Linked DNA regions of Homo sapiens: all the other regions are linked to region 3. The links are contacts of gene promoters, found by promoter capture Hi-C in blood cells and fetal thymus (Javierre and others, 2016). All regions are on one chromosome and are shown on one strand. Each heading gives the region's core, a stretch centred on a gene start or on the middle of the fragment in contact. The rest is flanking DNA. Distances are from core to core; before and after follow the strand shown. Region 1 holds the start of PADI4 (peptidyl arginine deiminase 4). Region 2 overlaps PADI3 (peptidyl arginine deiminase 3). Region 3 holds the start of SDHB (succinate dehydrogenase complex iron sulfur subunit B). Region 4 overlaps PADI1 (peptidyl arginine deiminase 1). Region 5 has its middle 12 kb from the start of MIR3972. Region 6 has its middle 5.2 kb from the start of LINC02783.

The links. Contacts are between HindIII fragments. The CHiCAGO score rates a contact against its expected background, and 5 or more counts as called.
Region 1: the fragment with the promoter of PADI4 here is called in contact with the fragment with the promoter of SDHB in region 3 in 5 of 17 cell types (neutrophils, monocytes, megakaryocytes and 2 more); the score reaches 19.9 in neutrophils.
Region 2: a contact is called between a fragment that was not itself captured here and the fragment with the promoter of SDHB in region 3, in 8 of 17 cell types (neutrophils, M0 macrophages, megakaryocytes and 5 more). The highest score is 16.0, in neutrophils.
Region 4: a fragment that was not itself captured here is called in contact with the fragment with the promoter of SDHB in region 3 in 4 of 17 cell types (neutrophils, monocytes, M2 macrophages and 1 more); the score reaches 9.1 in neutrophils.
Region 5: a fragment that was not itself captured here is called in contact with the fragment with the promoter of SDHB in region 3 in 7 of 17 cell types (neutrophils, endothelial precursors, monocytes and 4 more); the score reaches 12.8 in neutrophils.
Region 6: a contact is called between a fragment that was not itself captured here and the fragment with the promoter of SDHB in region 3, in 1 of 17 cell types (neutrophils). The highest score is 6.7, in neutrophils.

Annotation. Positions count from the first base shown.
Region 1 is chr1:17,305,910-17,310,176 of GRCh38, reverse strand. It overlaps PADI4 (peptidyl arginine deiminase 4), which reads right to left and starts at 1,980. Exons shown (of 16, transcript NM_012387.3): 1 at 1,863-1,980. The coding sequence starts at 1,954. The HindIII fragment of the contact is 10,543 bases long and covers 1,573-4,267 here.
Region 2 is chr1:17,256,989-17,261,205 of GRCh38, reverse strand. It overlaps PADI3 (peptidyl arginine deiminase 3), which reads right to left. Exons shown (of 16, transcript NM_016233.2): 2 at 1,448-1,628. Among named protein-coding and RNA genes, the nearest start is that of PADI3, 10 kb to the right of the region's middle. RefSeq lists enhancers at 1,171-1,670, 1,671-2,172. The HindIII fragment of the contact is 856 bases long and covers 868-1,723 here.
Region 3 is chr1:17,052,676-17,056,440 of GRCh38, reverse strand. SDHB (succinate dehydrogenase complex iron sulfur subunit B) reads left to right here and starts at 2,409. Exons shown (of 8, transcript NM_003000.3): 1 at 2,409-2,493. The coding sequence starts at 2,422. RefSeq lists enhancers at 1,870-1,919, 2,470-2,529. The HindIII fragment of the contact is 17,146 bases long and covers 1-3,765 here.
Region 4 is chr1:17,215,910-17,220,151 of GRCh38, reverse strand. All of the region lies in intron 1 of PADI1 (peptidyl arginine deiminase 1), which reads right to left. Among named protein-coding and RNA genes, the nearest start is that of PADI1, 13 kb to the right of the region's middle. The HindIII fragment of the contact is 9,935 bases long and covers 1-4,242 here.
Region 5 is chr1:17,287,723-17,291,515 of GRCh38, reverse strand. No RefSeq gene overlaps it. Among named protein-coding and RNA genes, the nearest start is that of MIR3972, 12 kb to the right of the region's middle. The HindIII fragment of the contact is 1,519 bases long and covers 637-2,155 here.
Region 6 is chr1:17,182,514-17,186,683 of GRCh38, reverse strand. No RefSeq gene overlaps it. Among named protein-coding and RNA genes, the nearest start is that of LINC02783, 5.2 kb to the left of the region's middle. The HindIII fragment of the contact is 4,141 bases long and covers 537-4,170 here.

The DNA.
Region 1 (4,267 bases), core at 731-3,230, 250 kb before region 3:
GAGTTGAATGTAGGAAGTGTGATGTAAATATTAGCCATTGTTACGTGAGATGTTCAGGGGATAGAGTGACAGGCTCAACGTGTGGCTGAAGGAGGAGAAAAGAAGGATTTAGAGGCCCCTGTGAACTCCGGAGTCCCCATCCTTTCTGGGAGAAATGGGCAGTGCCTTCCTCTCTGCCCAACACTGACCAGCTGTCCACCCACCTCTCTAGGGCCAGAGGAAGCACTTGTGATCTTGATTACTACTCATGGACGCTGGGTAGAGGGCTAGCCTGGGCATGCTGGGAGAGGCCCTGGGCTAGCTTCAGCTCCTGTCATTTCCTTCACACCCATTCTCAGAGGAGTTGGGGGCGCCTCAGATGATGTCAGGTGATTTTCTTTTTCCTTTTCTCCCCAACTTCTTGGTCTCCTGCCTCCACCATGTGGCCCTGGGAGACCATCCCGACATTTCCTGCTGTTCTCTGGCTGCTGGGGCTCAGGCAGTAGCAAAGAAATGTCCCCGGCACTCCTGTGGGCACCATTCTAGGGCCACCGATGCCCAGACTGGGATGGGGAAGCCAGGGGCAACCACTCCTATTCCTGACAACAGCAATTGTTGCAGGATAATTTAGGAATCAGAGAGACCGAGGGGTTGAGGAGGATTTATTATTTAGATTCACTGGCTCAGTCAGGCTAACATTTCAAAAGACTGAGCCCTGAACAAAGAGTTAAGTTATCTTTTAAGCATTTCATGGGGCGGGGGTAGATCTGTGCAGGGGGAAGCATATTATAGAGGCAAGAAACAAAGACAGTTATTTAATTGAGACATGCATTATATTATTTTTTACTTTTTAAGGAAAAAAATTTTTACAGCTTGAGTTTATCTGTCTAGTGACCTTGCAGCTGCACAGCTGGAGAAACAGGGTCTTTACAATGCCTGGAAAAAGAGGAGCAATAAGGCTCACTAGCCACAAAAAAACAGGCAGTTAATTTTTAAGGGACTCCAGCTCTTTTTTTTTTTTTTTTCCAGGGAAAATTGTTTTTTTTTTTTTTAACATAGAACTGAGTTTTTGCTTACACGTTTTAAAATTTCTTTTAATTCCTGTTCTACAATAACAACAATGACCCTGCACACTCCCCGAGAGCATTCCTCAACTCTCTTGTTTAACCCAGACCCTGCCACAGAGCATGGCACTCAGCATTTGTTAAATGAGTAAATAAAAACTACCAAGGATGGGCCCACCACTGTGCTAAGTACTCAGCCAACATCTGCACATTTTTTCACATTGAATTCCTATAACCAGCCCATGATGTGAGTATTATCCCCATTTCACAGATGAGGCAACTGAGGCTCAGTTGCCCAAGGCCTCCTTGCTAGCCAGCAGCAGGTCCAGGCTTCCTACCTCAGTCTCTGCCGCCACAGAGCCCCGTTTCGCCATCCCCACCCACGCTATTATGCACCCACTGAGGGAGGCTTAGCTAAGAGATGTGGGGTAACAAACTGTGCTGTGAACCAGGAGGCCCAGGGGCTAACCTTACTTCCAGGGCACACGTGCTGTGTGACCTTGAGCAAGTCACAGACTCTCTGTAAGCTTCTGTTGCCTCGATGAAGACAGGGAGATGGATGGCCTGGTTTGCCCCATAATAATTTATCTGTCGTGTGTTCCTGGGGAATTTGCACTTGTACATGGCAAAGAACCCACAGCCATGAGACTGGCACTTCCCAGGGCTGCTGGGGTCTTCTCTCTCCAGCTACTCCCCTGGCAGTGGCTGCAGAGGCTGGAGCCTAGAGCCTGGGCCAAACACATGCTCCTGTGTCAGTAGAACTGGGTCATCCAGCATCTCCTGACCTGCCTCCAAAACCCCAGAAGGCCCCCCTCTTACCTGCAGATGTCAAGCTGAGTCAAGGTGCCCAGCACACACACGGCATGGGTGGGCTGCTCTGGGGTCACACGGATCAATGTCCCCTGGGCCATCGTCGGGCTAGCTCGTCCCTCTGGCTGTAGGAAGCCCCTGGGCTGGTTCCTTTATATCGCCCAGCAGAGGCCATGAGTCAGCACCTGCGGTCTGTGGCCCAGAGGCTCAACCCCTCCCCACTCAGGTCAGGGGTGTGGGCTCTCAAAATCTCCTCTGCCCTGGGGCTGCCCCTCGGACCTCTAGATGGGTGTCAATGCTGGTACCAGTGGCAGGGTGGCTCTGTCAGTTTCTTGGGAAGGATGGATGGCTCAGAAAGCCTGGGGTGGAGAGTGGGGCTGAGGGGTTGGGTCCTGGTCCTCATGCCCACAGTCCCATCCCTGCCTAGAGGCCCTGAACACCTTGATCTATCCAATCTCACCTATGTCAAACAGGCATATCAGAGAGGAGAAGGTGGGAAAAGCGGGGAGATTTTAGGTAAGCAGTCACAGGCCAGGCTACACGTTCAAAGACCAACCAGGCTTGGGACAAGTCTCTCCACCTGGGCCACCCACATGACAGCTCACATTCTCTATGCCAGGCACGTTTTCCTGCACTTCACATAGAATAGCTCATTACGACAAACCCGTGAACTAGATCATACCATTATCCCCTTATTTCACCCTCACAGCAGCCCTCTGAGGTTGGTGCCATTATTATACCCATTTTACAGAGGAGAAAACAGAGGTGCAGTTCTTCCACAGCTCGAGAGTGGTAGGGCCAGAATTGGAACCAAAGGTGTCCAGTTCCAGAGTGTGAGATTCATTAGCTGCCTGTCTATATGACACGTGCTTTCCAGACTGTATCACAGCTACATCTCGCTACAATACAAGGTGTATATGGGCTTATTATTACAACCCATTTTACAGAAGGAAAATTGAGGCTCAGAGAGTAAAAGTGACTAGCTCTTGCCCAAGGTGCCAGAGCTAGAATGCGGCAGAGCTGGGAAGAGAAGATGAGCTTCCTGGCATGGAAGTTGATGTTCTCTGCATGCTCCAGGATACCTGCCTCTTGCCAGGGCCTCTGGGTGTCAGACCAGACAGTGCAGGTGTGGGCCACGCCTGCCAGGGGGATGCCCATGTGGCCTCAGAGCTGTGGTTGCACCTGGGCCATTGGTGCCAGGCTCTGCCTTTAATGAGGCAACTGGGGGGTGGTGGATGGGTCCCAACAAGGAGCACTCAAAGGGTGCATGCATGGGAGTCTGGCGTGAACATAGAGCGTTTCGTGGGTTGGATATCTTGCGTTTGTTTTTTGTTTGCTTGCTTTGGCTTTGAAGCAAAGAATTTGCCTCATTAATTCAGAGTCAGGCTGTGGGATCAAACAGGCTTTAGTTCAAATCCTGCCTCATCTCAACATCCCTATGGAGTGCGTCCTATCAGGATGCCCATGTGTAGATGAGACCACAAAGACTTAGAGAGATTGAGTGAGACCCCCAAGGTCTCATAAGCCCTACAGTGGGGATCTGGATTCAGACCACCTTCTCTGGGCTCAAAATTTATCTTCTGTACCAGCAGATGATGATGTGGCCAGGTCCGACGTTCTGACGCATCTACATGACTGCCTGCACACAGTGTTAATAAACCCAATTTCTCTGGCTGACCGCATGATTAGAACTAGTTTGAGCTTCTACTGGGAAGTGGCAGGAGGGAGCTGTCCATTGTTAGAGTTGGGAGGGCCCTTAGAGAACACCCAATCCAGTCCTCGTTTTGCAGAAGGGGAGACTGAAGCACAGAAAGGGAGTGGGACCTGCCCACGGTCACACAGCAAATCAGAGGGAGGGCTGGCCTCTACCCCAAGTCTTAGGTCTCTTGAGGTTGTTTTCTTCTGTTCCTTCTTTTCTTTCTTATTTTCTTCAGCAGTTTGGGGTTTAAATTTGCTGTGAACGAGCCACAAAGAGGACGAGCCCCAAAGCAGTTTTGTTAATTCAACAAATACTGACTGAGTGCCTATTGATGGCCAGGCACTGTTCCAGGCACCGTGGATACGCTGTGAACAAAGTGGACAAAAATCCTGCCTTCATAGAGCCTTTTTGTTTGTTTGTTTTTGTTGGGAGAGAGACAGCCAGTAAGCAATAAATGCAGTAAGTGGATTCTATCGTATGTTAGTGGGGTAGAAAAAGGAAAAAGGACAGGGTAAAGGCTACCAGGAACACAGGGAGAAGGTTCCAAGTCAAGAGAACAGCCAGTGCAATCGGTACAAAGGCCCTGAGGCAGGGACATGCCTGGCGGGTTCAAGAAAGAGCAAAGAGGCCAGTGTGGCTGAAATGCAGTGAGGGAGGGGGAGAGCAGCCCAGGGCGGGGTGCGATCATATAGGGCCTTTCGGGCATCCTAAGAGC
Region 2 (4,217 bases), core at 46-2,545, 210 kb before region 3:
ATGACCCTCCCCTTGGGGTATTCCCTCCTGACATGGGTGTCTCAACTCTCTGCTTCTCATGTCCGAATCTCAGCCAGAGGGGAGGATCTTGCAGGGGCCACTCACCTCTGTAGTCCTGGGAGCCCCTAAATCCTGCAATTACTGACCTCCATGTGTCAATCACCAGCAGTGATGCTTGCCTCAAACATACAATTACTGGGATCCTGGCCAAAGGCAGGATAGGGAGCAGGGGTATATGGCGGGTGAGGGAAAGAGTGGGAGAGACTCTGAACTTCCTCCATCCCACCAGCCATCATGGCCAAGGAATTCAAGGTGGGGGTACCCACACCATCGCCACTTCAACCGGCACCAAGGTGGGGCCCCTCACAGGCTGGCCAGTCCTCTTGCACTACCCCTGGGACTCTGTCCTGACTCTCACCAGCTCTGCCGCTCGCTAGATCATGTGACTTCAGGAAAGCCACCCCTTCTCCTTCTTAGTTTTCTTGCCTATTAAATGGGTTCATTGGGTCCTGCCCCAAGTGCCTCATGGATGCATGGCTGGGAACAGAGGTGGGGGTGATGGAGGGAGACTGCCCCCAGGGGTCTGCACTGAATTCTAGCTCTCCTGACCATTAGTGTGCGGTCCCGGGACAGTTACTCTGAACCTCAGTTGCCCCATCTGCGAAATGGGCATCAGTCCCCCACCTCTCTGGGCTGCTGTGAGGGCTGGATGAGGTCATGGCTGCCCAGTACCTGGCACGTGGTCAGTGCTCCTTAAAGGGCCAGTTTCTGAAACATCGCTCCTGACATGGAGTGGATCCCACTACTCCCACACTCCAAGTCCTGGTCCCTATCAGCCCTCGAAGCAAACATCACCTGTGCCAAGCTTAAAGGCCACCCATTTCTCCCATGTGTTAAATGTCCCCTACCCTGCAAATAGGGTCAGGAAGAGAGTGGATTACGGACAGCAAAGCGCCTTGGGGAAATGCTGTCACCTAGGAAGGGGGTCTTCCCAGGCACCGGTGTCCCTCCCCTGTCCCTGCTTTCTCTCTTTCATTCAAAGTGGCAGAGATCCCCTAGTCAACCCTCAGCCTACATGTGGGGAAACTGAGACCCAACTCAGCAGAACTGGGACAACTCCTTCTCCAGGGGGTCTTGGGAAGCAAGAGAAGGAGCAACACTGGCTCCTATGGCACTCCACAGCAATGATAGGAGACAGGGGTTATGATTATCCCATTTTACAGATGGCAGACAGAGGCCCCAAGGGGATGATAAGGCTTTCCAAGGACACATGGTATGTGTCTGTAACTTGCAGAGCTGGGATTCAAAATCAGCAGTATGGCTCCAAGGCCAGGCACTTACCCACTGTGTTGCCCTGCGCTCTGGAGAAAGAGAATGTTGGGCCCTCCTAGAGCTAGACAGCTGCCTCCCTCGAAACCTCTCCCCACCCCACCAGGGACCAGCTCACATGGCTGTCGTTGAGGTCATTGCTGGGGGAGTTCATGACCACGATGATCTCCAAAGTCGCGTCAAAGCGCCACCGCCTGGTGTCTGCACGCTCCCGGCCCCTCTCCATGTTGGGAGAGATGTAGATGTCCACGCCAGGCGTCCCATAGACCTCAAACATTTCTGTGCCCTCAGGCACTGACCTGGGCAGGGCAGAGAGCCATGGTCGGTGCCGAAGGAGATATATTTTGCTCAGATGTTTGAGCTTTGGCTCAAGCCCTGCTTCCTCCAGGAAGCTTTCCTTGGCCACCCAGTCCCCTCAGATCCTCACAGTAAGCTCCTGCGAGTCAAGCCTGGACCCCACACAAACATATACACAGTCGGCCGGGCGTGGTGACTCACTCCTTTAATCCCAGCACTTTGGGAAGCCGAGGCGGATGGATCACTTGAGGTCAGGCACTTTGGGAAGCCGAGGCGGGCGGATCACTTGAGGTCGAGCCTGGCCAACATGGTGAAACCCTGTCTCTACTAAAAATACAAGAAAATAGCCAGGCGTGGTAGCATATGCCTGTAATCCCAGCTACTGGGGAGGCTGAGGCAGGAGAATCGCTTGAACCCAGGAGGCAGAGGTTGCAGTGAGCCAAGATTGCACCACTGCACTCCAGCCTGGGCGACAGAGCAAGACCCTGTTTCAAAACAAAACAAAAAAACATACACACAGTCTGATGTTCTAAGCCCCTGTGTTCATTAACATTTCCCTTGTGAGTTTCTTTACCACTCACCAGAATGGCGAGCTCTTCGGAAGTCAGAAGCCAGCCATGTGCTCGATAAATCCCCAGTGCAGGTCTGGGCACGAAGAGCTCAGTGAACACCAGCCATTGGTGGGTGGAGCCCCTTACAGTTCTGAGAGCTTTAAAAAGAGCAATTCTCACCCCAGATCCCATCACATGTCTCCTTAGTGGGTGGGAAGATATCCTTGAATTCTTCCCTGGGAAGGGAATTCAATCTGGTTGAGTGCCCGCTGCATGCCAGGCACCTGGCGCACGCAGCTCCCTCCACTCTTACAAGCTGTAAGGTGAGCAATATCATCCCCATTTGGCATATTAGCAACTGAGGCTCAAGGAGGCCTCGTGACAAGCCTGAGGTTGCATCACATGGCAGAGCCAGATGTGCAACAGGTCTGACTCCAAGCCCATGCTGTTCCACAGCTCTGCAGTGTCACCCGGGAAACTTGGCCGGATTTGGTCAAACAACCAGAAATTAATTGCAGGTTTAAAGTATCTGTGATGTTATCTGGCCCTGAGATTGCATTTCCCTCATTCCACCTAGCCTGGGGTTCCTCCTTGGAAACCAGACTATGCATCCTTTGACTGTGGGGTGCCCACTGTGCACTCAGGTACTGCCTGGCGGGCAGATCCACCCACTGCTCTCCCCACTGTTGATCCCGCTGGGGAGCTGAGGACCAACATTGTCCAGGGCAGCCAGATGGGGCTCAAGGCCACAGGATCACAGCTCAGTGGGAACCCATGTAGGGAGAGGCCACTGCGAGTTGGAGGGCCTCCTGGAGGCAGCGGCATGCATGCCCCTGGGGGATAACAGTGACTGACACTTACTGAGCTCATGCTGTGTGCCAGCCCATCATGCAATCCTCTCAATAACCCTAGAAGGGAGGCACTATCTATTATTGTCTCCCATTATACAGATGAGAAAGCCGAGGTTAAGTAACTTGCCCAAGGTCTGTGGCCGGGCTGGGATCCAAACCCAGCCATGTGGCTCCTCAGTCCACACTCTTGCCCACCACCTCCCCAGGAGTAATAATAACAACAATACCATAACATAAAAAGCCCCCAGCCTCTGCACTCTTATCACGGCAGGCCTGCCTAAGCCTTTTTGTACATTAGCTCATCTGATCCTCACTGCAGCCCCAGGATGAGATAATTACTCCTGTTTACACATGGGGAAACTGAGGCACAGGATACGTAGGGGACTACCCCAAATTTCCACAGCTGGCCACTCCCCCCGCTTCCCATCTTCCCTCAGAGTAAGGCAGACCTCCCCCAAAACAACCTCTTCACTCTTCCACCAACATGATTCTCTTACATCTCAAAGCAGCTTTTTTATGAAAAGGGAAATAAACCAAGCCCAAGCTTCTCTCCATCAGGCAGGTCCCACTCTGGTGTCTGGGCCCCTGTCAGGTGTCCTCACCAGTTGGGAGGGACAGACACACCTGTTTCTCCTCCTAAGCAGGGCTGCCAGACTTAGCAAATAAAAATACAGAAAGCTCAGTTGGACTTGAATTTCAAGTGAACAGTCAATCATTGTTTGGTACTCCCGTGAAGTATTTGGGATACACTTATACTAAAAAAATTATTAATTATTTACCTGAAATTCAATTTTAACTAGGCATCTTTTATTTTATCTGGCAACCCTACTCCCAAAGCCTGTAATTTCCAGGGCTGGTGGAGCCCTCTGGCCTGTTTGGCCCTGGGCAGCCCCCCACAGGGGAAATGGCAGAACCAGGGAGAGAGGCATGAAGACACAGAGACAGAGAGATAGGGACAGAGAGACTTGGAGAGACCCAGCGAGATGGAGAGTCAGAGACAGGGAGTCGGAAAGAGACACAGGAAGACAAACCCAGGTAGGAAGAGCAGCCTCTCATACCCTCGGGAACACCCTCAGCCACGCTCCTGAGGCACTCGCCTTCCATCTCCCAAGGAAGCCTTTTTTTTTTTTTTTTTTTTTTTTTTTTGAGACAGAGTCTTGCTCTGTCGCCCAGGCTGGAGTGCAGTGGT
Region 3 (3,765 bases), core at 1,160-3,659:
GGCCCCATGGGGCAGACCAGAGGGGCCCTGTTCCAGTCCTGGGTCAGCACCAGTGAAAGTCAAGGTGACCTCAGCATTGTTACCAGTTATCCACAAGACAGCCACGTGAATCACAGAATCTTAAATCAGAGGGCCCAACACCCTAATGGTTCAGGCAAGGAAACTATAGGTCAAAGATGGGGAGGGGCTTATCCAAGGTCACATGGCCTTGAAGAGAATATTCCAGGTTAGACCTAGAGGTTCAGGCCTCACTACACACCCCCTTTAATGAGGCCACACTGGCGGTATAGCGGGGTTCCAGTCAAGGACTCCAGAAACAGCCCATCCAGCCAATTGACCTGGCCATCTCAATGTCTCCAGTAGCATCCACATCAGCTGTGAGAGTGGAAACCAAAGACTATAGAAAGGCGCCCTTCACATGTCCAAAACAAGCAGACAGAAAGGGGAAAAAAAAATCACTCCTACGAAACCCCGGGACCTGCAAGGTTAACAATCTACACAAACGCGTGGAGTGACTGAAGAGGCAGGTGCCTTGGAGGCTCCAGGCCACTCCTGCCCAAGGTAAGTCCCAAGAGTGAGGCCAGCTCTGAGCAGATCCATGGAGGGGGCTGGAAAAAGAAGCTGAGATGTCTAAAATGGAAACTCAGTAAAAAACAAAACCAAAAAACTTTCTTCACAGAACTGCTGTGGGGATTAAGTGGGATAATGGACCATAATGTTTGGCACAGAGTAGAAATGGTTTCTTATATTAAATGGCTAACAAAGCCACCAAGGACTGGGTGTCCTTCTCTGGGCACACCCTCTCGTACAGAACAGAGCTCACAGTGTCTAGCTGTCTGCTCACTTGCCGTCTCCACCACTAGAGAGTAAATTCAATGAGCAGTGACCACCTGGCTTGCTCATTCCCTGCAGCATCCCAGCACTTGGTGCCTGCCACATAGTAGCCACTCCATTCGTATTTATGAATGAATGAATGAACGAACAAAAGAATGGCACCTTTGCCAGCCACCCTTGAAATCACCTCAGCTCATTCACCAACTGCCCAGTTTGTTTGGGACTCTCAGTGCAGAAACCTGGGCAGCCTCGGGCAAGCTGCACGGTATGCGACAGAAAGGGCTGACTCAAGCCAGTAAGCGTCAGAGATGAATAATAAGACTGACAAATTCTTAGGGAGGCTAGGTGTGGTGGCTCACGCCTGTAATCCCAGCACTTTGGGAAGTTGGAGCAGGATGATTGCTTGAGCCCAGCCTGGGCAACATAGCCAGACTCCATCTCTACAAATAATTTTTTAAAAAAATTATCCGGGTGGCCGGGCGCGGTGGCTCATGCCTGTAATTCCAGTACTTTGGGAGGCCGAGGTGGGTGGCTCACGAGGTCAGGAGTTCAAGACCAGCCTGGCCAAGATGGTGAAACCCCATCTCTACTAAAAACACAAAAAAATTAGCCGGGCATGATGGCGGACGCCTATAATCCCAGCTACTCGGGAGGCTGAGGCAGGGAATTGCTTGAACCCGGGAGGCGGAGGTTGCAGTCAGCCGAGATCGCGCCACTGCACTCCAGCCTGGGAGACAGAGCGATACTCCATCTCAAAAAAAAGAAAAAAAAAAAAACTACCCGGGTATGGTGGCTCACACGCCTGTAGTCCCAGCTACTCTGGAGGTGGGAGGATCGCTTGAGCCTGGGAAGTCGAGGCTGCAGTGAGCCAAGACTGCACACCGGCCTGGGCAACAGAGTGAGACCCTGTCTGAAAAAAAAAAAAAAAATTGGCCGGGCGCAGTGGCTCATGCCTGTAATTCCAGCACTTTGGGAGGCCAAGGTGGGCGGATCACGAGGTCAGGAGTTCAAGACCAGTCTGGCCAAGATGATGAAACCCCGTCTCTACTAAAAATACAAAAAATTAGCCGGGTGTGATGGTGTGCGCCTGTAATCCCAGCTACTCGGGAGGCTGAGGCAGGAGAATCGCGTGAACCCGGGAGGCGGAGGTTGCAGTGAGCCAAGATCGCGCCATTGCACTCCAGCCCGGGAAACAGTGCGAGACTCCATCTCAAACAAACAAACAAAAATTCCAGGAATAAAGAGGTTGAAATCGGGGCAGGGACCCGGATAGGATGGCTCCGCCCCATCTAAGTCTTAGCCCCACCCCCTGAAAGTCGCCCTGCCTCTCAGACTCCTCCCCTTTCTGAGAAGGTCACGGGGGAAGCCAAATGGGCATGCGCCGCTACTGCGCTATTGCGCACGCTCGCTGTGCTTGCCCCGCCTTCCCTCCGCCCACCCGGGAAACCGGAAGCCGCCTCCCACTTGGTTGCTCGTACGCGGCTAGTGGGTCCTCAGTGGATGTAGGCTGGGCGCCGCGATGTTCGACGGGACACCGGCGGAGAGCGACCTCGGGGTTAAGGGGTGGGGCTGACGTCAGGAGCCAAGATGGCGGCGGTGGTCGCCCTCTCCTTGAGGCGCCGGTTGCCGGCCACAACCCTTGGCGGAGCCTGCCTGCAGGTGAGTCCTGGAGCCTCAGAGAGGGAAAAGTCAGGAAAGCCACAGAGACTGCCTGGAGCTGATGGGGCTGCGGAGAGACTGAGGAAGCATAGGGCAAGGCCTCAGGGAGATGGAGGACCTCCTCCCCCTGGTGCAGTGCTTTGGTTTGGCTTCGAGCATCCCTGTCAAGTTATCTTTCTGCGCCTCGCAGCAGCTTGTGAGTTAGGGCACGGGCAATTTTTTACAGCTAAGGGTGCGGGGGGGGGGGACGTTCAGAAAGGGGACTTGAATTGCTCAAGGTCACATGGCAAGCGAATGACTGCTGGAACCAGAATTTGAATCCAGACATTGGAGTTCCAAGCCCTTTTTCTGCCACCAAACTATCGCCTCTGTAGAAAAGGGAGACCTGCGGGGTGTGAAGGATGGGAATTGGGAAGCGAGGTAATTCCTCAAGGGTGCGAGGTTGAGGACCGGGATGGGTGAGGAAAGGACATGTGAATTGTTGGGGACAGGGCAGGGGAAGGGAGAGATGGAGGGAAATGCACCCAGCCCCCTACCTCGAAGGATCCCGGAGGTGGGTGGTGGGGGTTGCAGGAAAGACTGGGTTCCTTAAAGCAGTGTCACCACAGTTTCACTAGTATCCTCTCAGTGTTTCTGACTCTAAAGGTCATATAATAATACGGACCTCATAGAGTTGACATGGAATGACAGGTAGAGGGCTTGGCGCTGTTCTTGTTTATTACTATGCCGTGTGCAGTAACAGATTTTCCCACGCCCCTTGTATGGCCAAGAAACAACACATTTCTGACCTGCCTTCTAAGTGGGAACATTTAGAAGGGGAAGGGAAATTGCTTTTGTATACATAAGGGACTAAGGATTTGCAAATCCTTTCTAAGTCTGTTCCTCTTCTGGGATTCTCAACAACCCCTTTAAGGTGGGCAAGCAAGAATCCTTACCCTCCTTTTTGGAGCTTTGAAAACTTGAGGCCCCCAGAAAGAAAATTTTTGGCTTGCTCAAAATATCACATTCCCAAGAAGCAGACCTGAGGCAGTTTTTTAACATGGTACCAGAAAAACTCCTTAGCATAGATCTTGGGACATGGTTGGTGTCCAAGAAATTTTAGTTCCTCTTCCTCTCTTGCACTTAAATGAGGACATCTTTCATCTTAAGTGCCTGCTATGGCTGCATAACACAGTACATATTGCCCATGTTCCAATCCTGGTTCTATCCAGCATGCTGTGTGTGAACTTGGATCCACTCTGTCTGCATCAGCCTTTCTGAAAAGGGGAGATA
Region 4 (4,242 bases), core at 1,286-3,785, 160 kb before region 3:
GGCAAGACCCACCTCCCCCATCCCCCACTCCTGGCCTTACAATCACCACATTCCACAGCACTTTTGGGGGTCCTCGCACCTTACCTGCTCTTCCTCATCGTTTACATCAGTTGCCATGGAAACCCCAAGTCTCCTGGACTATCATCCTCTCATCTGACCCCCTTCCTCATCCTCCCCAACTCCCTTTCAATCCCAGCCACCATCATCTGCACGATATCCTCAGTCCCACCCTGGACAGTTTCCTTGATCTTGTACTGTAAAAGAAGCCTGCCCCCAATAGCAGGCATGGCCTCCCCTTCAGCCATCTCCCTGGTGACTGCTTCCCCCTTACTCCCTCCAGCCCCTGGGCCTGGAGGTGGGCAAGGGTCCTTCATGCTCCTCAATGTCCCTTCCAGATCATCATCTTTCTTCACTCCGTAAACCCCCAGCTTTGCATTGACATTTCCAGACTACACCACCCATCTACAGGGACACCTTTGCACACCATCGCTCTGTCCTCATCTCGAGGGTGCCAGCTCCTGCCATGTTCCTCAGCCGGCTGCCGTCACCAGTTTATACTTCAATGGCGATGTAGATGGTGTGCTGCACCCTGGTCCCTCAGTCCCTTGACCTCTCATCCAATGCTCCTGTCCTCCACCTGGCCTCATCCCCTCCTTCACGGGGCAGGTGCTATAGAATGTTATTATCAAAAAACTGCACCCACTACAAGCTCCCCTGTTAGCAACCCACTCGGACACCGCTTCCCAATATTCCAGCTCACTCCTAACACACCAGTGCAACCAAACCTTCAGCCCACTGGGACGCTTGACCTTTGAAGGCTGAGTCCTCTCTACTCGCCCCCCACTGCTGTCCCTCATCCCTCATGTTCCCTCTTCCCTTCCCCAGGATAGTCCCATAGATCCCATAGTCCCCCGCTGCGGCCACCCCCTTGCTCCACTCCCTAATCTTTTGCTCATCCTTCCCTCCCTTGAGCTGCCTGGCAGAGCTCCAGCTATACAATCAGATCCAACTCTCCACCCCCTCTGCACCTGCACCACGCGGCTGACCATGGTTCACTTGGACTCATGACTGCTGACCTCAATGGATGCGTGACATGCTCGTGCTCCTACAGCATTGCTCCAGGCTCTTTTCTCTTTCAGTGTCCTAGAGGACTATGTCCTATCTTCTCCTATCTCCAGAAGCCTCCCCACTCTTCCCCCTTGTCACTCAGAGCCTTCAACCTCCCTCCTCCCACCACCTCATCTCCCAGCCCTCCTGCCTTTGAGTCCACGACCATGCCTGCCCTCCTGGGAAGAGGGGTGTGCTGTCTGGGCTCTTGCCCAAGACCAGCCCTCCTGGGGCACATCCCCTACTCAAGGGCATCACTGGCCTTGCCCCTTCTCCCCTCCCTTGCACCCAGCACACAGACGTGAATATCACCCATCCCCAAACTCATTCTCCTTTGACCTCCTCATTTCTTCTGCTCCCTTGACACCTCCAATTATTTCTTCTCTTTGCGTCTGCAACCTGCCTCTAATCAGCCTTTCCTCCCACCACACCAAGGAAACTCCACTGTTGCCAAACCCAGTGGGTCTTTTCTCTTCTTCCCCTCATTGACCTGTCAGAGGCACTTGGCCCAGATGATCACCTGTCTTTGAAACACTTTCCCACTTGGCAGCTGGGACACGGGCTCTGCTTGCTCTCCTCTGACTCCGTGGCCTTTCCTCTAATGCCTTTGCTGTGTCACTCCCCCTTACCCCCTAACTCCAGGCAGTGGTGTGCTGGCAAATGTTTAACAACCAGCTCTCTGGAGTGGGGGGGTTCTTATGCATATATATGTATATATAAATTTATTATAAATTTTACTGATGTAAATAGTGTGTAGCACATAATGTAAAAATAATAGTATAATACATATAATTCTTTATTGTAAAATGTGTTGTAAATTCTATATAGTACATTGATTCCTCCAGATGCCCTCTCTTGCAACTGTAGCCAACCTGTGGTTGCAATTTGACCATGATTTGACCAATGCAATTGCATCCCAATCTGCTCATTCTTTCCTCCATAAGTTTATTGTCACTAAATCTGATATGTGACGTAAACGTTGGTTGATATTTTTGTTGGCATTCACGAATAAGATGAAAGGGGAAACAATGAAGATGCATGTCACCCTTCATTCATTCATCTAGGATATGAGCAACCTCTTTGCTGAATCAGATAATCCTGGAGGAACATTTCATCAATTTTTGGTACTAACCACAATGTCATGGCTATAGACGCAATACACTTTTAAATTGAGTTGACATTGTTAACCTGTCTCCATCACTTTCTGAACTCTAGGCATTTGATAAAACGATGAATGAAGCCCTGATTTGTAGCCTTGACCAATGTCTGTGGTGTAAACACTCCCACTCTAGCCAGTTTCAAGTTACCAGCCCAACATCATTGGACTCAGAGTTTCAAAGAGCTGCATAATAGCACCTCGTGACATCACTATTTCCACTATATCTGGACAATGGTAAAATGCAGTAAAATAATTAAGCAGTGATGAGTTTTCAGTACTACTGCCTTTGTTTTTAATATAATTTGCTTAATTGTGTGTATATTTAATTTTAAATAGTGGCTGTGTTTAACAAGGGGTTCATAACCTTCTTAAAAATTAAACAATCAGATCTCCTTGAGGAAGGACCCTGGTACATTGCCACAAACACACTGTTCAACTTTCTCCCAGCCTTCCCCGAGAGGACACACAACTTTTTACCAGGGTGACTGTCACTGGGGAAAAGGAAATAATCGTACATTTCTAGTTCTCCTGCACACCGGCCCTGAACTGGTCTAGGAGACCCTAAACAACACTGCGGCCCACCTGGCAGAGCAGGGGCTCATGGAGGCCAGGTGATCCATGGAGTTTCAGCTCAGGTTCATCTTACAGTGGGTCCAGTAGCCCCTGAGCCCATGTGTGGTTCCGCCCCACCCCAACAAGTTCTGAAATGTGTAATTGGAATAGGCACCATCGGCAACGGGCAGAATCCCTACACTGGTACTCTTCAGAGTGCGGCTGGCCCCAGCGCACCTGGCTTAGGGCTCAGCCTCCCCTCTCCTCCTCTCCTCCCCTCCCTCCCCTCTCCTCCTCTCCTCCCCTCCCTCCCCTCTCCTCTCCTCCTTTCTTCTGTCTACACCCACTCCCTTGGTTTTCTCCACCTGCCACATCAATATGGTTAGAACTCTCAGACTTCTTGCTTTCTGAGTTTCTCCCTGGGTGTCTACCAGGCATTTTATTTTATTTATTTTTTATTTTTTGAGACAACGTCGTGCTCTGTCACCCAGGCTGGAGTGCAAAGGCATGATCTCAGCTCACTGCAACCTCTGCCTCCTGGGTTCAAGCGATTCTCCTGCCTCAGCCTCCCAAGTAGCTGGGATTACAGGAGCTCACCACCACGCCAGCTAATTTTTGTATTTTTAGTAGAGATGGGGTTTCGCCATGTTGGCCAGGCTGGTCTTGAACTCCCGACCTCAAGTGATCTGCCAACCTCGGCCTCCCACAGTGCTGGGATTACAGGCGTGAGCCACTGCGCCCAGCCCTACCAAGCATTTTAAATTTCACACATCCAAAGCCAAACTCCTGCTTCCCCATGCCCACTCCTTCCCCACTCCTTTCAAACCTGCTCCTGCCCAACCCACCGCAAGTCTGTCCATAGCAGCTCCACCTTCCAATTCAGCCTCACCTCCTCTTGTTCCCTCACTCGCACAGCCAGCCCCTCAGCAAATCCCATCAGCTCCACCTTCATAGCAACTGCAGACCCTGACCGCTCTCACCTCTGCCACAGCTCACATCCTGTCCAAGCCACCAGTTGCTTCCATGTGGATTTTTATCATAGGCCAGTGACCTGCTTCCCCTCTCTCCCCACAGTCCAGCTTCAACATAGCAGCCAGAGGGACCTTTTAAAATAGAAGTCCCGTTGCATCCCTCCTGCTCAGAGGCTGTCACCAGAGCCTGTGTGGCCTCCCAGGCTTTCCTGACCCATTGCTTTCCCTCCCCACGCCCTCTTGCTTGTTCCTGCCGTTCTTCAAGCATGCCAGGGCTGCAGCTCTGTCTGTCCGGAATGTTCCTGTCACCAATCCCTGCGGTCCGCCCAGCCCCTCACTTCCTTCTCTCAGGGTAGCATACGAGGCCTTTCTGATGTACCCTTCTTGCCTGTTGCAAATGGCGTGACACAAATGACACCATGAGTCTGGTTCCCCAACCCCAGCTTCATTCCA
Region 5 (3,793 bases), core at 147-2,646, 240 kb before region 3:
GGATTACAGGAGTGAGCTACCACACCCAGCCTATAGCTATTCTTTATGGGGTTAAAGAAGTTTCTTTTTATTCTTAAGTTTTGCTTAAAAATCATAAATGATGATTTTATTAACTTTTTTCTGATTTATTGAGATGATCATGTAAATTTTTTCTTTGATCTATTAACCTGTTGAATTGATTTTCTAAGATGAAACATGCATTCCTGGGATCAATTTATTCTGATCTGATATTGTATAATCTGATATTGTATCATTTTTGAATTGAGTTTGCTAATAGTTTTGTTTAGAATTTTTGCATTTATGGGTTTATTGTTATGTTCGTAGGTTTTCTTTCTCATTCTGTTCTTGTCAAGCACAGCTAGCAAACTCAGGTTACGTGCTACAAAACAGAAGCTCTTACAGTTATTATTATGGCTTTACAATTGTACTTACCATACATTGTTGCTACTCTCCGTTTGCCCTGCTTCTCTACTAACCTATGAGCTTCCTAAAGGCAGATTCCATATCTGCTCACCCACTGCTGTATCCCCAGAATCTGCTGCTGAGCTGGACACATAGTAGGGAAAATTGTGCCCATGTAAAATAGGTGTGAGGATTAAGTAGCTACCCTGGAGAGGATGAAGAAGGCCCTAAGCTTGCTGGGGATAGAAAATGAAGAAATAAACACTTGTTAGGTTCTTGCTGTCTGCCAGGTACTGCTGTAGTCCTCAAACAACCCGTGAAGGTAAGCATTATTCCCATTTTACAGATGAGCAAATGGAGGCTCAACCATAGGAAATCTCCCATTAAATTTGGTCTTGCAACTGCTTCTTGGCCTTTTGGCTAAGAGCAAATGTAGAATTTGCTCTTGCAAGGTGGTTGAGCACACTGACCACTCCACGTCCCTTTATAAAGGTCCATGTATGACGGGAATCATTTTGGCATGCTGCCTTCCTTCTGATAATGAGAATTAGGTGGTTGACTCTGGTTCCCTTCTTGCAAGGGCTACTGGGAAGCTCCAATCCTAATGATAGTTTGGTTCTCATGGTCATATATTTGTTTGTCCTTTTCCATGGGTTTTATTTTCTGGATTTTTTTTTCTGTTTTGGTGTATTATTATTATTATTATTATTATTTCAAGATAACCTATCCTGGGTTTCAGCGATTCTCCTGCCTCAGCCTCCTGAATAGCTGGGATTACAGGCGCCCGCCACCACACCCGGCTAATTTTTGTATTTTTAGTAGAATGGGGTTTCACCATGTTTGCCAGGCCCGTCTCAAACTCCTGACCTTAACTGATCCACCTGCCTTAGCCTCCCAAGGTGCTGGGCTTACAGGCATGAGCCACCGTGTCTGGCCTTGGTGTCTTAATGTAAAAAATTTTTTTAAATCATCAGTTTGTTGAATGTACTCTTAATATATGTTGCCTCAAATCCCTAGAGGAATTTGGCAAAGGAATTAAAAAAAAAAAAAACACCAGTAAGTAAATGTGCTGATTGAGCTGTCCAGTAGACTCCTGGGGAGCGTTAGTCACATAAACACTTCTGAATGATGCCCTGCCCAGCCCTGCTCAGGTCCCTGCTTGCTGGAGCACTGGAAACTGCCCAAGGCAGCTATAATTTCTGTGATTGAGATGTTTTGAGTTAAGATAATTGGCATTGAGATGCAGTTTCTCAGAATGCCAAGACTTATTTAAAGACCCAAGAAGAGTTCAAAAAAGAAACTATGGAGCTAGCTTTGGTGCTGGCTTCCAGCTCTTGAAAGACAGCATTGCTTCAGAGAGCCAGCTGAGCGGTAGTTAGTTTCCATCTGCTGGTCCAGGACAGACACATCCACCAAGCACCCACACCGGCAACGTTCAGCCTGGGTTTCTGAGTGTGCATTCCTTTCCAGGAACTCGGAAGGAGACCCTTGCCCCCTGACATCCTATCAGGAACCATCTCAAATCCTCACCACCAACATAACAATAAAATGCTGTGAACCAGGAGACCCAGGCGTGGGGCCCAGAACTGGGGGGAAGCACTTGGGGGAAGAGGGATCCCAGCCCTTTTCTTGCCCGAAGCCTCGAAAAAACTTGCCCACTGCTTTGACTCATCTGTGAGTCCTGGGGGAGTGGCCACTGGCCCATCATGGTGGGCAAATGGGGGATACACGTACCTGCTTTGTTACCAAAGCTTTGCTGTAGCCAGGCTTTTGTTTGGTTTTGTTTTTTTAGATGGAGTCTCACTCTGTCACCCAGGCTGGAGTGCAGTGGCGCGATCTCAGCTCGCTGCAAGCTCCGCCTCCTGGGTTCACACCATTCTCCTGCCTCAGCCTCCTGAGTAGCTGGGACTACAGGCATGAGCCACCACGCCCGACTAATTTTTTGTGTTTTTAGTAGAAATGGGATTTCACCGCGTTAGCCAGGATGATCTCGATCTCCTGACCTTGTGATCCACCCGCCTTGGCCTCCCAAAGTGCTGGGATTACAGGTGTGAGCCACCACGCCCAGCCAGAGTATACAGGTTTTCATTCCATAATTATTCTTTTAGTCATTCAGAAACATTATAAAAAACTTGTCTTGTATTAATGATTTACTTCATAATAAATCAATGAGTAAATAAATCTCAAACTCTGGGAGGGACTCTTGTCCCTGCCTTTTCCCTGTTCCCCACGTCCTGTCCAGTAAGCCCGTCCCTTCCGGTTTCCCCACAAAGAGTGAATTGAATGTGGTGGCTTCTCTTCGGCTGAACTAGCTGCCACCTTCTGACTTGTCTCCCTGCTCCCATCCCTCACCCCAAAATTTCATGCTAAGCTTTTCCCCATGCAGAGCTTTCTTTATTATTATTATTTTGAGATGGAATCTTGCTCTGTCTCACCCAAGCTGGAGTACAGTGGTGCGATCTCGGCTCACTGCAACCTCTGCCTCCCTGGTTCAAGAGATTCTCCTGCTTCAGTCTCCCAACTAGCTGGGATTACAGGTGCGAGCCACCACACCCAGCTAATTTTTTTTTTTGAGACGGAATCTCGCTTCATCACCAGGCTGGAGTGCAGTGGCACGATCTCAGCTCACTGCAACCTCTGCCTCCCAGGTTCAAGCAATTCTCCTGCCTCAGCCTCCAGAGTAGCTGGGACCACAGGCACGTGCAACCACGCCCAGCTAATTTTTTGTATTTTTAGTAGAGATGGGGTTTCACCATGTTAGCCAGGATGGTGTTGATCTCCTGATCTCGTGATCCGCCCACCTCGGCCTCCCAAAGTGCTGGGATTACAGGCGTGAGCCACCACGCCCAGCCAAATTTTTGTATTTTTAGTAAAGACGGGGTTTCAGCATGTTGGCCAGGCTGGTCTTGAACTCCTGACCTCAGGTGGTCTGCCCGCCTGGCCTTCCAAAGTGTTGCTGTGTCCTGGCTACACACCTGAGTCACCGAGTTGCTTTGTGTAACATCCCAATGTCCAGACAGAATCTCTGATGGTGGGGGCCTGGCCCTGCTAGGTTTTCATGAGAGCCTTCCAGGTGATTCTAATGTGTAGATGGGTTGAGAACCACTGGTGTGACTGGGTACAGAGGTCACGTGTCTAGGCTCAAATTTGTTTCCCCCACTTAATAGCTCTGTGACCAGGGCAAGCGCTTTCATGTGGCTGTGCCTCAGTTTCCCTGTCTATAAAGTGAGAACAATAGTAATAGCTGCCTGCTGGCATGCTGTGAGGGCTATATCAGATGGTGCTCAGGAAGCATTCAGTACCTGCTGGCACAATGCTTGCACTTGCCGTCATTATGCTGGAGGGGACTTGGGATGACAGTGACTTTGTAGGAAGTGATAGGTCCCATGGA
Region 6 (4,170 bases), core at 1,358-3,857, 130 kb before region 3:
CTGATGCTCAGGGGCCTGTCCAGCTCTGACTCAGTGAGACCAGGTGAGGCTTACATCTCCTGAGGCCTCTCCCCTGCCTTCTCCCAAACAGCATCCCAGTGCCCCCAGCCTCCATGTCCCCCTACAGATCCCCCCAGGTAACCCATAGTGAGGCCAGCCAGGGTTGGGCGGAGTCTGAGAAGCAACCAGCTCCAACCTAGGCGTGAATCACCCAGCCTGCCCTGGCCCTCTGCCCTGGGAGCACGGGGTGCCAGCACAGCCTGGCACGGTGGGCACCTGGTTCTGAGCCACCTCTTTGCCTTAATACACGCTTCCTGCCCCACTTCCCCTCAGCCCACGTGCATCCTCCTTTCTCCCAGACACCCAGCACAGGCCGCCCAGGTGCTGGCTCTGAAGGAAGACAGTGGGGCCCACAGTCTGAAGAGGAGGCTCAGGTCATGCTCAGTGAGACCCCAGACTGAGCATGGAGACAAAATGCCTGTCCTTCAGGGGCCTCCTCGCTGATCGGGGAGGAACAGCCCCTGCGCTTGGAAGCTTCCAATCTGATGGGGAGGCATAGCCCTTGAACACACAGATCATCTAGTCTGATGGGGGAAACACAGCTCCCATGGTATAAGAATTAAGGAGTAGGCAATGCTCCCTCTCTCTTTTGAGAACCTTCTAATCTAATGGGGGAGACACAGCCCTGCCCTGGAGTCTTTTGATGGAGGAGCTCTCAGGACACTCTTCCTGCAGGTGGAAGGGACTCACTGCTACCTTCAAGACCCACCTCTTTCTGAGGGTGGAGACGAAGCTGCTGCTGTCCTCAGGGGTCCTGGTCTGATGGATGAGATGCAGCTCTGGTCCTCAGGAAGCCTCTGGTCTGATTCCTTGTCTGATGGGGGAGGCAGCACACCCAGCAGATGCAGCCAGCAGCCAAGTCACAAGGCCTCTTCTGCCCATGTGTGCAGAGCTCCCTCTGGGCATGTGGTTCTGGGCCAGGGTGGGAGGCCAGAGCTGAGATGAGAGGTCTGGGCTGGGGGATATGGGGAGGGTCACCCAGGGGCTGAGAGCCACTCTTCACCAGCTCGCTGCTCACTCCTGGCAAGGCACTGTCACACACTGCCGAGTGAGGCCAGCCAGGGATGGGCCTCCCTGTTTGACAGATAGGGAAACTGAGGCCCAGAAGGAGACGTGACAGGACCAAGGCCACATAGGAGGCAGGACTCATGCCCCAGTTTATCTCCAGAGGGTAAGCGGGAGGGAGATAGGCACCAAGACGAGGCAGATGACAGGGGGAGCTGGCCAGGAAGGCTCAGGCAATCGGGCACTCTCTGCTCCAGTGCCCCCGAGATGGCCTGTCCGGAGCTGGCCTTTCTCAATCCTGTTTGGAAAATGACTTTTATGTGAAGGAGACCGGCTGCCCCGCCAGGCGTTTATGAGCCTGGCTTATTGGTCTGGACTAGCGAGCCTGGGGCACAGCTTCTGCATGAGCCAAAGGAAACACTTGCCAAGGGGCAGCCCTGGCCAGTCCATAGCTTCTCTGAAAGTCAAGGCTGGGAGCAGGCTGGGAATCCCCAAAGGTCAGAGCCAGAAGGGACCCAGGGGATGAATTGGTCCAACCCTTGCCTTTTACAGATGGGAATGGTGAGGAACAGAGAAGGGTGGCGACCTGCCCAAGGTCACCAACACTGGCTCCCAATCCCTGGCCAGGGCTCTCTGCAGCACTGGAGCCACGTGGAGCAGCACTTCCCCTCCAGCTGTCCTTGTGGGGACAGGTCAGGATGTCGGATAGGTCTTCTGTATTCGGGTTTCTGGGGGGCTGCCCTTTGTTTTTGTTTTGTTTTGTTTTGTTTTGTTTTTTGAGATGGAGTCTCTGGCTCCAGTCACCAACCAAGTCCCAAGGCCTCCCAGGCTGGAGTGCAGTGGCATGATCTCAGCTCACTGCAAACTCCACCTCCCGGGTTCAAGCGATTCTTGTGCCTCAGCCTTCCAAGTAGCTGGAATTACAGGCACCCACCACCACGCCTGGCTAATTTTTGTATTGTTAGTAGAGATGGGATTTCACCACGTTGTCTAGGCTGGTCTCGAACTCCTGACCTCAGGTGATCTGTCCGCTTCGGCCTCCCAAAGTGCTGGGATTACAGATGTGAGCCACGGTGCCTGGCCTAGGGGGCTGCCCTTTGTGGGGCTGTCCTCCTGGCTCTGTATCCGCCCCTATGGCATCCTTTGAGGAGGCTAACCCAGGACCTGGCCATGGCATCTGGCCCAGAGCTCTACACTTAAAATGTATGCACTCTGTAGAGGTTTGTACCACCCCTCCTCCCTGTCCCCACCCCCACCAGCCACCAGGATCCCCAAGCAGGGGAAAGGGCTCTGCTGAGACAGCTAAGCTGCTCCCACTAGGGAAGGAGTGGAACTTACTGTTTATGGGCCACCAACCCTGTGCCAGCCCAGAGCAGAGCACTTGAACATAACATTACCTCATTCAAGTCTTAACGGTTGTGAGACCAGGCATCTTTATGAGGAAAAAAAGGAGATTCCAGATGTTGAGACACTTTGCCCGAGGTCACGCAGCACCACGTGGGAACCTGGGATGCCAGCCTGGCTCGGTCTGCTTCCAAAGCGCACGCTTGATTTCCCCACTGTGTTAGCAGCCTCCAGAAGGGCCTCAGGCGATGCCCGCCTCCTCCAGGGAGCGCCCAGAGCATCCTGTCACCTCAACCCCTGACTTGCAGGGGCTAGGCTCTGTCCATGGTTCAGAGCTGGCTGTGCCCTCAGTTGTAGCCCCGGCTGTGGGGCTCCCTGAACTCCCTGGGGAGAAGTGATGGGACAGGCATAGGCAGACCTGGCCTTGGGACACATTCAAGCCCATTGAGATCCCCAGGCCCACTCAGGCCTGCATGGGGGGCCCAAGGGCTCAGCTAAAGAGGATTCATGGGCCAGACTCTAGTTTCACAGTTCAAGGCTGGGATGGGAGTTCTGAGGCTTGGGCTCCAGCTGAACTCTGCCATGGCCTGCTGTGTGACCTTGGGCATCTTGCTGGACCTTTCTGAGCCTTCATTGCTAGGAGCTGGTCACTGACATCCTGTGATACGTGGGTCTACATGTGCCTGGTTAGATCCAAAGGTTCAGGCAGAACCTTTGCTCAGCAGGAGGGGCAGAGGAGGGGAAGAGAGCTGGACCGGGACTGGGTATGACCTACTGGGCTGGGCCTCTCCAGTGGGACTTTGCTGATGGCATTCTTCACTGGTTGCCACATCAGCAACTCTACCAGAGTGGAGGGTGGCCTGGTGGTCCCTCTTGCAGAAAGTCATGGCAAGCCTTGAAGATTATGGGTGCAGGACTGAGGGCTGGGCCACTGATTCCGCTTGTTTTATGGTTATAGAATGATTTGGGTTCTCCATTTCTTGTGTTACAGCTCAGTGACGCACTGGAGGCTGGCTCTGGAGAGCAGATAATGCACATCTCTTCCCAACACCACACTCAGGGATGTCACACTGGCCATGGTGGGAGTATTTACACCATGGAAACTGGTTAGCACTACACGAAAGGGGCTTTTATGTGTGCGGCATTAGGTTGGTTGGTTTGGAAAGCCAATTGTTAAATATTTATCAGAACACCACACGGGTTGTGTGGATAAGTTAGATTTTCCAAGAAACTTGTCATTTTTATCTAAATTTCCACATTTCTTGGCATATACATTCTTTTAATTTAAATTTAAGTTGCTTCCTCAGTGCAGTAGGCAGCATGTCAGTCTCATAAATTTAATTTTAGCAACTAAAGGAAAAACGCATAAATTGGACTTCATCGAAATTTAAAACTTTGGGCCAGGCACGGTGGCTCACGCCTGTAATCCCAGCACTTTGTGGGGCTGAGGCAGGAGGATCATGAGGTCAGGAGATCGAGACCATCCCGGCTAACACTGTGAAACCCTGTCTCTACTAAAAATACAAATAATTAGCCGGGAGTGGTGGCAGGTGCCTGTAGTCCCAGCTACTCAGGAGGCTGAGGCAGGGGAATGGCATGATCCTGGGAGGCGGAGCTTGCAGTGAGCCGAAATCGTGCCACTGCACTCCAGCCTGGGCAACAGAGCGAGACCCCGTCTCAAAAATAAATAAATAAATAAATAAAATTTAAAATTTTGATGCTTCAAAGGACAATATCAAGAAAGCGAAAAGACCATCCCCA